2 separate regions of the Homo sapiens genome follow, and region 1 is linked to region 2. The links are contacts of gene promoters, found by promoter capture Hi-C in blood cells and fetal thymus (Javierre and others, 2016). All regions are on one chromosome and are shown on one strand. The core of a region is centred on a gene start or on the middle of the fragment in contact, and the rest is flanking DNA. Distances in the headings are between cores, read along the strand shown.

The links. Contacts are between HindIII fragments. The CHiCAGO score rates a contact against its expected background, and 5 or more counts as called.
Region 1: the fragment with the promoter of MCUB here is called in contact with the fragment with the promoter of LEF1-AS1 in region 2 in 2 of 17 cell types (non-activated CD4 T cells and naive CD4 T cells); the score reaches 5.9 in non-activated CD4 T cells.

What each region holds. Positions count from the first base shown.
Region 1 is chr4:109,557,539-109,564,103 of GRCh38, forward strand. MCUB (mitochondrial calcium uniporter dominant negative subunit beta) reads left to right here and starts at 2,708. Exons shown (of 8, transcript NM_017918.5): 1 at 2,708-2,898. The coding sequence starts at 2,800. RefSeq lists a silencer at 2,655-2,974 and an enhancer at 3,395-3,594. The HindIII fragment of the contact is 4,460 bases long and covers 2,046-6,505 here.
Region 2 is chr4:108,164,760-108,171,351 of GRCh38, forward strand. LEF1-AS1 (LEF1 antisense RNA 1) reads left to right here and starts at 2,766. Exons shown (of 3, transcript NR_029374.1): 1 at 2,766-3,074. It overlaps LEF1 (lymphoid enhancer binding factor 1), which reads right to left and starts at 4,173. Exons shown (of 12, transcript NM_016269.5): 1 at 2,796-4,173; 2 at 338-404. The coding sequence starts at 3,008. LOC124900752 reads left to right here and starts at 3,180. Exons shown (of 2, transcript XM_047416528.1): 1 at 3,180-4,143; 2 at 4,351-6,211. The coding sequence starts at 3,741. The coding sequence ends at 4,937. RefSeq lists silencers at 2,127-2,366, 4,123-4,172 and enhancers at 2,244-2,745, 3,773-3,862, 5,933-6,563. The HindIII fragment of the contact is 8,163 bases long and covers 1-6,592 here.

The sequences.
Region 1 (6,565 bases), core at 1,458-3,957, 1.4 Mb after region 2:
AGCACCTGGGCCAGCAGCTGCAGAGGGGGGCGTCAGGTCCCCCAGCACTGCCAGCCGGCCCGCGCCACGCTCAAATTCTCACCAGGCCTCAGCCACCTCCCCATGGGGCAGGGCTCGGATCTGCAGCCCGCCATGTGCAAGTCCCCCCGCGGTGGGCTTCTGCTAGGCCCTAGCCTCCCTGAGGGGCACCGCCCCTGCCTCAGCGGCGTCCAGTCCCATTGACTGCCCAAGGGCTGCTGAGTGCAGGCACGAGGCACGAGCGCAGGACTGGCAAGCAGCTCAGCCCGCAACCCTGGCATGGCATCCACTAGGGGAAGCCAACTGGGCTCCTGAGAGGGGTGGGGACTTGGAGAACTTTTATGTCTAGTTAGAGGATTGTAAATGCACCAATCAGCACTCTGTCTAGCTAAAGGTTTGTAAATGCACCAATCAGTGCTCTGTGTCTAGCTCAGGGTTCGTGGATGCACCAATCAGCACTCTGTATCTAGCTAATCTCCTGGGGACTTGGAGAACCTTTATGTCTAGCTAAAGGATTGTAAACACACCAATCAGCACCCTGTGTCTAGCTCAAGGTTTGTAAATGCACCAATCAGTGCTCCGTGTCTAGCTAATCTAGTGGGGACTTGGGGAACCTTTATATCCAGTTAAAGGATTGTAAATACACCAATCAGCACTCTGTATCTAGCTCAGGGATTGTAGACACATCAATCAGCACCCTGTCAAAACGGACCAATCAGCGCTCTGTAAAATGGACCAATCAGCAGGATGTGGGTGGGGCCAGATGGGGGAATAAAAGCAGGCTGCCAGAGCCAGCAGTGGCAACCTGTCTGGGTCCCGTGCCACGCTCTAGAAGCTTTGTTCTTTTGTTGTTTGCAATAAATCTTGCTGCTGCTCACTCTTTGGGTCTGCACTGCCTTTATGATCTGTAACACTCACCGTGAAGGTTTGCAGCTTCATTTCTGAGGCCAGTGAGACCCGAACCCACTGGGAGGAATGAACAACTCCGGACGCGCCACCTTAAGAGCTGTAACACTCACTGCCAAGGTCTGCAGCTTCACTCCTGAAGCCAGCGAAACCACTGAACCCACCAGGAGGAAGAAACTCCAAACATGTCCGAACATCAGAAAGAACAAACTCCGGACACGCTACCTTTAAGAACTGTAACACTCACCACCAGGGTCCGCGGCTTCATTCTTGAAGTCAGTGAGACCAAGAACCCACCAATTCAGGACACATTATCAAGATTCTTCACAAATGTTAATAGGGATTTTTATCAGTTTTAGTTGTAGTTTCCAATTTCTAAAAATGTTCAGGTAATTTTTTTACACCTTTCAGAACCTAGCTCATGAGTGTTGAATCAATGCTTTTTCATGTCAATTCTTTGTATAGGCATTCTTTTCAGTTGTATTAAACAAGAACCCTTCACAACAAAAAAACAAAAATACACGCTTCTTTCACTTGGAGCACTAGCTAATAGGAGGAAAAGATTCAGGTAAGGTAATTTACCTTCCCATATGAACTTAAAGTTTCATGTGTCACTCTCCATCTGGGGCAACTGTATTTTGAAAGACATGCTAGTTAACACAGGTGAATCAGCCTTTAATAGTGATAAAGTTTTTACTATAGTAGAAACTTGTGATTCTTTCCCTTTTCAATAAGGAAAGGAGATTACCGCCAGGAGTGATTTGCCACTTATTGCAGGTTTGCCAATTTTGATTCATTAACTGAACCCTCTTGCAGATTCAGGAGATAAAAATGCGGAGTGCCCAGTTAAATTTGAATTCAGATAAACACCAAATAATTTAGTATATCCCAGATATTTCATTTTTAAAATAATAAATGTGACCCATGCAATATTTGGGACATACTTCACTATTTGTATCTAAAATTCAAGTTTAACTGGGCATCCTATATTTTATCTAACAACCCTACTGTAATTGGTTTAGGTTGCTCTTTAATGCCTTTGGTTTGCTTTCAAAAATAAGTAGTCTCAAAACAAAGCATCCGATTTCCCAGTAGTTAGAAGAACTCAATACCGGTTCCGAAGCTTCTTCAATTAAAAACGTGCTTCAAAAGAGAAGCCAATTCTGTGGGAGATACTTTCCCAAAAAACTCGGGTTTGGGCCCCTATACCGTGAACTACAAACCTCCGCAGGGGTAGGCCCGGGCTGCCCGCCTCACACCGCACTCGCCAGCGAGCAGGGGCCCGGCACCGCAGCCCGGGGCAGAGGCCTTGGAGGTTGTGGAGGTGGGAGAGGCCTCGGCCGACCCGCTTCAATCCGTCTTCTCCAAGCTCGGTGGGGAAAACAAACTTCCTGAGCGGCCCTGCCCCCTCCAGATGCCGGACGCTGTTTTCGTCTCATCCCCGTCTGGGTTGGATGGCGAAGACGGCGCTCAGAGCACGCAGCACCGGGAATTAACAGCGAGTTTTGAAATCTAGAGCTCGCAAGGTGTGCGTCGCCTGCTGCTGTTCATTCCAGAGGGTCTTCTGCTGGAGAAGGAGGGGGCCCTCGACCTCGGGCTCCCGCTCTCGGGCTCCCGCTCTCTCGCTCTCTTTTTTTTTTTTTTTTTTGGTCGGAGGAAAGAAAACAGCCCTGCGCCCGGATGCGTAGAGAGCCGACAAGTGGAAACAGGGACACACCCTCCCGTGAGCCCGCCCAAGCTGGAGCCGCGGCGCGCTGAGCGAGCAGGCGGGGCGGGAGCGCCCACAGCTCGGAGCCACCAGGCGCTGACGAGGAGCCCGGCTGAGGGAGGATGCGCCGCTGACGCCTGCGGGAGCCGCGCGCCTGGGGCGGGAGGATGCTCCAGAGGGGCCTCTGGCCGTGGCGCACGCGGCTGCTGCCGACCCCTGGCACCTGGCGCCCAGCGCGCCCGTGGCCGCTGCCGCCTCCGCCCCAGGTAAGAGCGGGTGCCGGGCTGTGGGGGTTCGGGGTAGGCTGGTGCAAAGTTTGCGTTGGACAACTTTGGCGGGAGCAAAAGCCGAGCGGCCGAGCAGTCAACTGCGTTTTGCTGGCTGCCGGGCTCCGCGCGCCGGGCGGTCCCGACAGGTGGTGGCCGGGCGGCCGACGTGGGTCACGGAGGCCTGGGCTGAGGTCAAGACTCCGGGCCCGGGGAAGGTGAAGCCAGAGCGCTGCGGCTGGGGGTGCCTCACCCGGGCCGAGATAGGGTGCGGGGACCACCAGACTTCGGCCTGGGAGCAGCAGAATAACCTGGGAGGCAGTTTCTGGGCTGCAGCTCTCGGTCAGGAGCAAGTTTCCAAAGCCGCTGCGCCGCGGGGCCGGTTCCCTCTTGGTGATCAGTGCCCGAGCCCCTAAGGAGCCCGGAAACGATGAACGGGGCAGTGACCGTCCCGGGTGTGGACGGTCGCAGGAGAGTGAAATTTCCATCCTGAAATCTGCGAGCACCTCCCTTTCCCAGAAGGAAGAAAAACTCGCGTTTTGTTCAGACACCCGAGAGACGGGTGAATCATGAGTGTGCTGGTGAGTAACAGTTGGCCTGACACCGTTGTATTGTGGTCTGTGGAGAACCGTGGCTTGGAGGAGTAGAGAGTGGATGTGCACCAAAAAAGACTAGAAGAAGGGGAAAGCGCTGAGTTTAAGGAGGATTGCGATGGAGCCTGACAGGAGCCCGGGAGTGCAAACTCTGACCCAGATGAGGAAAGACAGCCAAAGCCTTCAGGGTGTGTGTGGTTGGGGAGGGAGCTGTTTCTGAGTTTTCGTTTGTTCCTCCCCCACACTGTTAAGATTACTTTCAGATTGTTAAAGGCTTAAAAGCCAAAAAGTAAGCAGTGTGATTCTCTTGTCACTTTCACTTCCTGTTTATTTTGTTCTTTTTTTTCCTTCCCCCCCTTTTCCTCCAGCTGTCTGAGGGCTTCAGTTTCAATTGATGCAGGGAATATTTAAGTGCATTTTTTTTTCCTTTTCATTGAGCTTGTGACCAAAGGATTAAGTGCATTCAGAAAATCAATTCCAGGAATGTTTGAAAGAGAATGAGGAAGGCCATGTTGTTACTAAATGTAAGAACAGGGGCAAACTCCTTAAAATGTAAAATGGTAGACTTATAAAGTCATTGGGGAGATGGGCTTTTTATACTTTTAAAGGTTGTACTTTTACTGTAAGTGTTGCATTGTGTAGTCAAAGAGATACCAAACATTAAAACAACCCAATACGAGGAACCCCTTTCACATGCCATTTTAAACACAGATTATTGTTTTTTGTTGTTGTTTTTGGAGACGGAGTCTTGCTCTGTTACCCAGGCTGGAGTGCAGTTGTGCGATCTCGGCTCACTGCAACTTCCGCCTCCTGGGTTCAAGCGATTCTCCTACCTCAGCCTCCCCAGAAAATAGGATGACCGGCGCGCGCCACCGCACCCGGCTAATTTTTGTATTTTTAGTAGAGACGGGGTTTCACCATGTTGGCCAGACTGGCTGGTCTCGAACTCCTGACGTTGTGATCCGCCCGTCTCAGCCCCGCAAAGTGCTGGGATTACAGGGGTGAGCCACCGCGACCAGCCCCAAGTGTTTTCTATTAAGTCCATTTAACACGTTGAGTAGCATTTTTGTGGATCCCGGGACTGGCTGCCCTTTCTCAAATTATCACCTGCAAATCCTTTTCTCCATATTTCCCATCTGATGCTGTCTAGGGTGGTGCCATTGCATACCTCAGCAGGAATGTGGATACCCTTTTAAAAGAAAATGGTACCATCGGGCTTATTAGGCCTAATAACAGGGAAACAGTAGTTAGGAATCATCGTAAGAAGCGTTATGTTTGAATGTTTCTAATTTGCAAATTTTTGTTTTAAGCCAACTGTCCAGCTATAAAGACAATTTTCAGAACTTGAGAAGTGGAAATGCTGTTCTTTATATACAGCTTTTACATTTTACCATGAGTAAACCGATAAAAATATTCTGGCTCTTGAGGAGTTTTAGCTAGGACTACTAAACCATTTTCTGCTAATCAAATTACCTGGCTATCGGGACATTTTTCATTCTAAGATATCACTCTTTTGTGGCTTTCCCACTTGTTATGAAATATCCTGTGGGTAAAGGCAAGTATTATTTCTATTTATTTTTTTTCCCAGAAACATTCAGACCCCTAGAGCCTATGAAGCAGCTAGAAAAACAAGTAGTTTGTGACCTGACAGCTCATAAAATCTTAGCTTGCAAGGACTTGTCGTAAGCAGTATTTCAAATAAGCGTTCCCAACTATAATTGGTCTTTCTGAAGTCTTTCACACTTCTATGAGTGTGCCTTATAGGAGCATTTAATAACTTTGAAAAATACACAATTCTCATACTTCATATTGTATGTGAGCAATTGTCTGCTAGTGTTTTCTGGGTGAGGGGAAAAAAAAACAGTTTGTTGACATGGATATACAGAATTGTTTTTTAAAGAACACATTTAGTCTGAAGCGTAGTAGAGCAAGAGCATATTGTATTCATCTTTGGGCAAGGCATGGCCTGGTGGCCATAATCACGCTCTGGTGGCAGCATCTCTGCTTGTCAGCACTCTAGCTGAGTGGTTGTCAGGGCAATCCATGGCTCCTGCTGATGTTTCTGTGCACAAAGACTCAGCTTTGAGTAATTGTGGTGCTTGGTGAGTTACATCTGAACAGAAAGCCCTTGCCTAAATGTGCCTTTCTTAATTTGGATTTTGTGCTACTTAGACTGAGAAACTCCCTGATACGATTTCATGTCCCCAGTACAGCATTTGAGTCCATACATAAGCTATGTTTAAAAAATTTTTACATCAAGCACTCTGCAGAGCAGCTTAAGTATCGAGTATGCTTTTTTTAACTTCTAGAAACAAAGCATATGGATGTTTAAATTCCACCACAAGATGTCAACTTAGAAATTGTTTTCATCTTTTTAATTTAATGAACATATCGTTCTTGTTTGACATGTTCCTACTATTCTATCTCTTGTATTTGCAGTTGGTACATTGTATTCTATTCTATAAAACTAACTTCAGAGCCCTCTCCTGAGGAGAGCAATTGGTTAAGTGTTGGTGATTGTATTTACGCTATGGAAAAGACATTGATGCTTTGATCTCAAAGTAATGCTAGACCAGCTTGTCAATTAAATATTAAACATTACCACTTTTGCAGCACTTAAGTATTAGTGTGTTTTTTTTAGATTTTGCTTGTTATTGTGATTAAATGGTATTAGTGCTGTTTTACAGCAAATTCTAAGCTAGGAAATCATTTGTGTCTTGGCAGAAAGATATTTGTTGAATGAGGTACCTGTGAAACTAAGGTAGAAAACCTCGAGCTAAAACTCCTGACCTCGTGATCCTCCTGCCTCAGCCTCCCAAAGTGCTGGGATTACAGGCGTGAGCCACCGCGCCCAGCCCACAGCACTTCTTAAAAAAATAAAAGTAAAGGAAAAAGCCAGACCTAATAATCTACTCAATCTAGTAAATATCATAAGATCCTCAGGAAGAACTCATATTTGTGGGGTGACCCTTGCCAGTCTTCAAGATTTTCCTCTCTAAAGTTTACCACAGCAAAGCTTTGTGAACCTGTCAGTTTCTTGATATGAGATTCAATGTTTTATGTCATTTCTTATT
Region 2 (6,592 bases), core at 1,516-4,015:
CTTAATAATATATTAAAAATACTAAAGATCTAAGCTAATTAGGATTTAAGGTAAGATGAGGAAGAGAAAAACTCATTGTAGACATTCCCTCTTCCCAAAGAATCTGGAACCCACCTGAAATCCAAGGGTCCCTAACTCATTCAAAAACAGTTTTTAAATTATGTAATATATATTAGAGGTAAGCCATAAGTTTCCTGCGTTTTCTTTACCATTAAAATAGTGGGCATAGTCTGACCTAGTCCCAGTTTCTTGAACTCAAAAGTAACAAAACACACCTATTTATACAAATTGCACCCCTTATCTGCTAAAGTCAGAAGAAGTAGAATGGGTGTCTTACCGTCATCGGGGTGTTCTCTGGCCTTGTCGTGGTAGGGCTCCTGAGAGGTTTGTGCTTGTCTGGCCACCTAACATCATGAATCCCCACACCCAAAAGAAAGAAAATCACCTTAGAGTTTGTGACAATAATGGTACAAATGTGTGTGCGCTGGTAATTCAAAGGAAGAGGTTTAGGGGCAACTCTGTTTTATACTCTGAGAGACATACGCTAGTGTTTAGTACTGCATAATCCTTTTCTTGTCAACATGTATTTTTGAGTGATTATTATCCACCCGGGACCAAAAACGTATAAATAATAACAAAACCAATAAAAATATAGTTAAATTTGGGAATGATCCACATGCTGTTCTGACTGCTGTTTATTAAACCATATCAAGGCTCCTTGGATGCCTAATATTACAGGAGTAGGAGTTAATGGGGTTGATGGTTTCGATAGCCTCTTCAACCACTGTTCACTTCAATCAGATCTGATTAAAAGAAGGCTGAAATATCATTTTGCAACTGAAAATGGCATTTAAACATAAACAAGCCAACCACTCAGATGCGGTCTTAAGGCAACTGCCCTGAGCGCAGTTACAGCAGAAGCTCCACTCGAGCTTATAACCTACTATGGCTGGCTGAGTGCAGGCTTACAAAAGTAGAACGATTCTGTGGTTAAAGGGAGGAAAATTAGAGAGTCAGGTTATAGACATCTAAAAGGTAGCCCAGTTGATATCAGTTTTGGTAATCACCATCCACCCAGACAGCCTCAAACACGTGCAAATCAGTGGTATTACTCCTTCACCCTCAGGCCTCCTCATGCCCACTTAACACCCGAGTGCTCTCGGATTCGAACGCAGTGTCCTTCACCCGGACCAGAAAATTGTGGAGAATATGAAGTGGGTGGCAAAATTATTTATGGACTAAGGCAGGACTAGCAAAATGGGTAGAAAGAGAGGCTGCTCTACAAATAGGAGAGTTTGGCAAAAAGCCTGTGTTTTGGATGTTATTCGGTTCTCTGGACGTGTGTCCTCCCTTTGACCTCCTTTTCCCAGCACACAGTAGTCACAAATCTTTTACGCGGGGTTAGGTGCACCCTACCCCCGCCCCCAGCCCGCTCAAACTGGATTCAACGGGTAAAGAACACCATTCTGTTCTCTGAACGCAGGCCCCCAGCCTTTCAAAATTCGTACTCACCTCTGCCATTGGGATAGAGAAGGCAGATCTGAGGTGTTCTTAAACGCGCTGTTTAAAACCCAAAATGTCCCCGCCCTCAAAACCACACACTTTCTTTTTGGGGGTAGAAAGATGCCATTTAAGGAAAAAAAGGTATATCCTCCAAGTTTCTTTGGAGGGAAAAGGCGTTGGTTAAATCATTCGGGTGTCAGGACTTTTCTACCGGATTTCCTCCAGAGGGTTTCCCAGTTGTGGAACAAGGGTGACCAGTGGAGTGTCGGGTATCAGGGTCCATCCGCCCCCTAGACCAGCTCTGGACTAGGCTTCAAACAGCCCTCCAGCGCGGCCCTGCTCCGCGCTTTCTCTAGCCAGCACCCACGTGTCTCTATTTACTCTACTCAGGTTACCAGCTCTATCGCCCGCAGCGGGCCAGAAGACCCGATAAAGCGCCTTCCACCCTGCAGGACTAGTGCCCGGCTTCCGCTGCTTCTCCGCCTTTCTTCTGCGTAGATTTAAGGCCTGATCCGGTCCCAAACCCCAAATAAAAGTTGTGGGTTTGTTTCCAAGTGATGGCGGTTGGAGAAAACTAGAGTTGGGGGCGGTACAGCCAGGGTGTACCCTTGCGGTGGGTCGGCTCGGCGCACCCACAGCTCCCAGCTGCTAGCCCAGGCGCTGGGGCCGCAGGGACTGAACCCCGCACCGCCCCCGCAGCCCGGGTGCGCGCCCCATCGGCCGGCCTGCTCCCCGCGGCCCGGCTCACCGGTGGTAGGGACGGCCCCGCCTGCCCCAGCCCACGCCCGCCTCCCCTTCCTCCCGCCTGTGGCTCTGCTCGTCTCCACCTAAGCCTTTGGTGGTTTAACGCACTTTTGCAGAGACATCTACCAAGAGATAGCGTGTGCACTTTGTTTTCCGTCCCACGGAAGAATTTATCAGTAGCGTTATTCAGCCCTACTCGCTTTAAAGCACGGCACCCCTCAGCCCAACAAAAAGACCGAAGGCGAAACATTGTGGGTTCCTGCCCGCGAACCAACCGTTCAGCCACCGAACCCCCTAAACTGATCCATTTGGAATAAGTTACCCTGCCCCTCTACCTCCCATCCTACACACACACACACACACACACACACACACACACACACACACACTGCGGACCGGGGGCCCAGCTACGCACACACCCCAAAACAAACGAGGGATCTACTCGGGACCCTCAGCCGGGCGGCCGGGCGCCTTCGTTCCCTTCCTCCCTCTCTGAGTTTCCCAGGGACCCGCCACGCCTCTCGGAACTGGGGCAGCGGCCCGCTCACCTCGTGTCCGTTGCTGGCCGGGATGATTTCAGACTCGTTCACCAAGGAAGACTTGATGTCAGCTAAATCGCCTTCCTCTTCGGGATGACTGATCTCGGCGAAGATCTTTTCCTTCTGAGGATCGCCCTCGTCCTTGAAGGGGATCATCTCGTCCGTGGCGCAGAGTTCCGGGTCCCCCCCGCCGCCGCCACCTCCTCCGGAGAGTTGGGGCATCCCGGCGGCTCTGTAATCTCCGCTCCGCTGTGGGAGCACCCGCGCAACAGCAGGAAAGACAGAGGGGTAACTCAAGGGTGGGGGAGGAAAGGAGAGTTGGAAGGGTTCGTGCAGCAGGACAGCGGGCGGAAGCGGGGCGGGCGAGCGCGGGGCCGCCGGCCGGCAGCCGGAGCAGCTGCCGCGGCGCCCGAATCCCGGCGGCCGCCGCGCTTTCCCGCTTCGCGGAGACCGACGCAGGCGCCCGCCCCCGAGGCCGAAGGGCACTGGGCGGCGAGGGCTGCGGTAGCTGGCGACTCCGGGGGCGTCTGCGCGGCGCGCGCTAGACGAGGCTGCCCCGGCGGCCACCCCGCGACCCCGCGTCGCCGGGATTTGCGCGCGGAGAACGCCGGTTCTGGAGGGAGCACGCCTCCCCAAAGTGCAGAGGAGGGTCCGGCGGCGCGTCTCCGCGGAAACCCTCTCCACTGTAGTTACCCCGGATGCCGACTTAGTAGTTTGTTTTCCGAGAAAAGAGAGGGGATCTGGGCAGAAGGGCCCCGTTTGCCCCAAAAGAAGGTGCAAGGATCAGAAGATAACGAAACGTCCACTTCCTGAAGGGTGGGAAAAAAAGAAAAAGAAAAAGGAGCCACCCACGCTGGAGATGTCCGTTTTAGATCTTCTTATTTTCTTCCCTTTCGCTTCGGTTTTTCTTCTCGAGGCTCATTTAATCTGCTAGAGAAGGAGGAGGAGCAGAAGATGGGGGCCGAGGAGGAGGGGAAGAGAAAGAGAAGTTTGCCAAGAATAAAGTTTTTGCCGGCAAGCGCGGGGACTCCGCAGTGGAGGGCACTGCGGAGTCTCGGGGAGTCACAGCGGGGGCCTCGGGCCCAAATGCCTCTGCCCGGAGCTCGAGCCGACACACACACTCAGTCCGACCCCTCTTTGTTCCCGGCTCGAGTTTCTCAGCCTGGCTCGCCGGCTCGCCGCTCTGCACGCCTCCGCCGGCCAGCTCTGTCAAAGCAAAGAGCTGCGCCCCTTGAGTTCGCCCGGCCGAGGGGAGGGGACGCCCCGAGCTTGGCCGCGTGCGAGGCTCCGGGCGCGTCCTGGTTCCTCGGCCCGAGAGCGCGCAGCCCGGGTCCCTCCTCCGCGCCCTGCCCCGCAGGTGAGCGGCTGCGCCTCCCCACTGCTTCTCCTCCTCCCGCGCCTCGCCGGCGCTGAAAAGCTACCCACTTGCGTCGCTTCTCCTCCCTCTCCCCTCCCCCGCCTCTAGCTCTCCTTGGCTGCCCGCTGGAGGGGAGGCGGGGGGTGAGGGGGAGTCGGCGAGAAGGAGGTGGTGATTGAGGGCTTTTTTTTCTTTTTCTTTTCCCAGATCCTGTAGGACGAGTCTTGGTTTTGGGGTGTGTGAGTGTGGTGTGTGCGCGCGCGCCTGGAGGGAAGGATCAGGCAACTTGGCGAGAGAAGGAAGGACCGGGCGCTGCTTATAACCCACCGAAAGGCACGCTTTGCCCGCGTGAAACTGACAAGAAACATTGCCGCAGTGGCTTGACTTCATCATCTAAGTATCTATTTACTTGGCCCCCACCCACCCACTCCTTTTCCTCTGCCAGTCTCTCCCCTACCTCCTTGACGCCTCCCACTCTCCCTCCCTGGCTCTGGCAGAGGGAGGAAGATGAAAGAGAAAGCCGCTGCCGCTGTGATGGACACCACATTGATAGATGCTCTGACAGTGGGGAGAGGCGGGAATCTGGGACTGAGAAAAAAAGGAAAAGGGGAAAATATAACAGACATTGCTCAACTATTAAGAGAGAACAGAAGGACAAGGAAAAGAGAGTTGTAGCTTTCCCGAATATAATATCACACACACGCTCTTTGGAGACAAGGGAACACACTAGTGAAAATAAAATCTCTAGGCTTACGGAGAAAAAATATGACGAGGAAGAAGGAACTGAAGACTAGATTTTAATTATTGCTTTTTAAACAATATATCTTTCATTCTGTTCTCACCACGGGATGTACGGAGAGTTGTGCTAGGTCTCCAGTGGGTTTTCAGAGACACACACCGCAGTGTGTGGGAACCTCATCGAGAATGAAAAGATAATCCAAGAAGGGGGAAGAGAAGGCAAAAGGACTCAGGAGAGCAAAGCCAGAAGAGGGAGGGAGGACGGGGTAGTCCCTGGCACCTTGGACTGCGAACTGAAAGGGACCCTTGAAGACACCAATCCGAATACAACCTCAAAAATTCCCCAGTCTCCACTGTCTCTTTGATGAATTTTGTACAAAGACAGGAGTTTTCAGGAGATACTTTGTGAAAGTTACAGCAGAAGGGAAGCTGAAGTTTGAAAACACATTACATTTTGTCCCTTGGTTCTCAAACCCCCTCAGTTAAAAATCTAGGCAAAATTATTATATCCAATACAGTAACCATCTGTAAAACTTCAGAACAGTAAACAAAGGACATAAAGAAATGTATCTTCATCTCCCTTAAATCGAAAACAAGCAAAACACTACAGAATCAGATTTTGCTCCATTATATAGGAATTGTCTGGCAAAGATCCCTCTTTTTTTCCTAAAGGTGAAATTTCAGGCTGCTGAACATTGAATGGGTAAAGATTTTTACAATGCTGTATCTAAGTGAGCACTAATGACTTCACCTACTAATAACGACTACTTCTTGGGAATAAGAATTTACTAGGAAGCAATTTTTAAAACTTTACAAAGGATCCAATTGGTCCCTACAACATGGCCAGTAGTCACATGTAAATTCTATCTGGAAGATTGGGGTGAAATTAAGGGGTTGGTGAAGGAATCCAGGAAAATTAAAACATTAAATCCATTTTTAATAGCTGACAATGCTATGCCTCAAGAGAAGAAAAAGAGTATATTCTGCTACAGTGTGTGAGAAACCCAATTTTTGTTTTTGGATGATGGTGGTATGTCACTTCCCTTAAAGTTAGGCACCAGTGTGAGTAGTGTCCCAGAGAGGTGAACGTGTAGCTGTGTCAGACATTTATAGCCCCATTCTTAAAAGACACATGGGAAAACAGTCAAAAGTCCTCCCATAACTGCACCAATTTGACCAATAGGAAAACAAGTGGAAAATGCAGTTTCACCAAAGCAGAGTAGAGGTTCCTTTTCATCAAACCCTCAGGAGGGGGAGGGGAGAACACAGAATGGCCAGGGGGTACTTTCTGGAAGCCGAAGAGAGATTAAATGATGACTCTTACATCCCCCCCGCTGTTTAAGTGCTGAAACTAATTCAGATCCCACTTTCTCCTTCATGTTAACTCTGGATTCCCCGAGTAATTTGGAGCCTATGCTCCAGGTTTCCTGAAGATTAGAAGCTCAAGAAGATGGGAATTTTTAGAACAATAACTAGGGGAAACTGTTTACTTGAAGGGCCAAGGGTAGGGGGCTGCGTTTGGTATTTTACTGAGACCCCGTCCATTGAAAACATTGTTTCTAACGAAATCACCCAGCACCTTGCTCTATTTGCGTGGCTGTTTTCCTTACAGTGGTGTAACTTGTGTTAGCTGATTGTCTTTAGGATTGTTGTAAATCTTCTGATGAGCAGCACTTAGAAGGGGCTTTAGTAAAAACCATGCGCCCCAAAT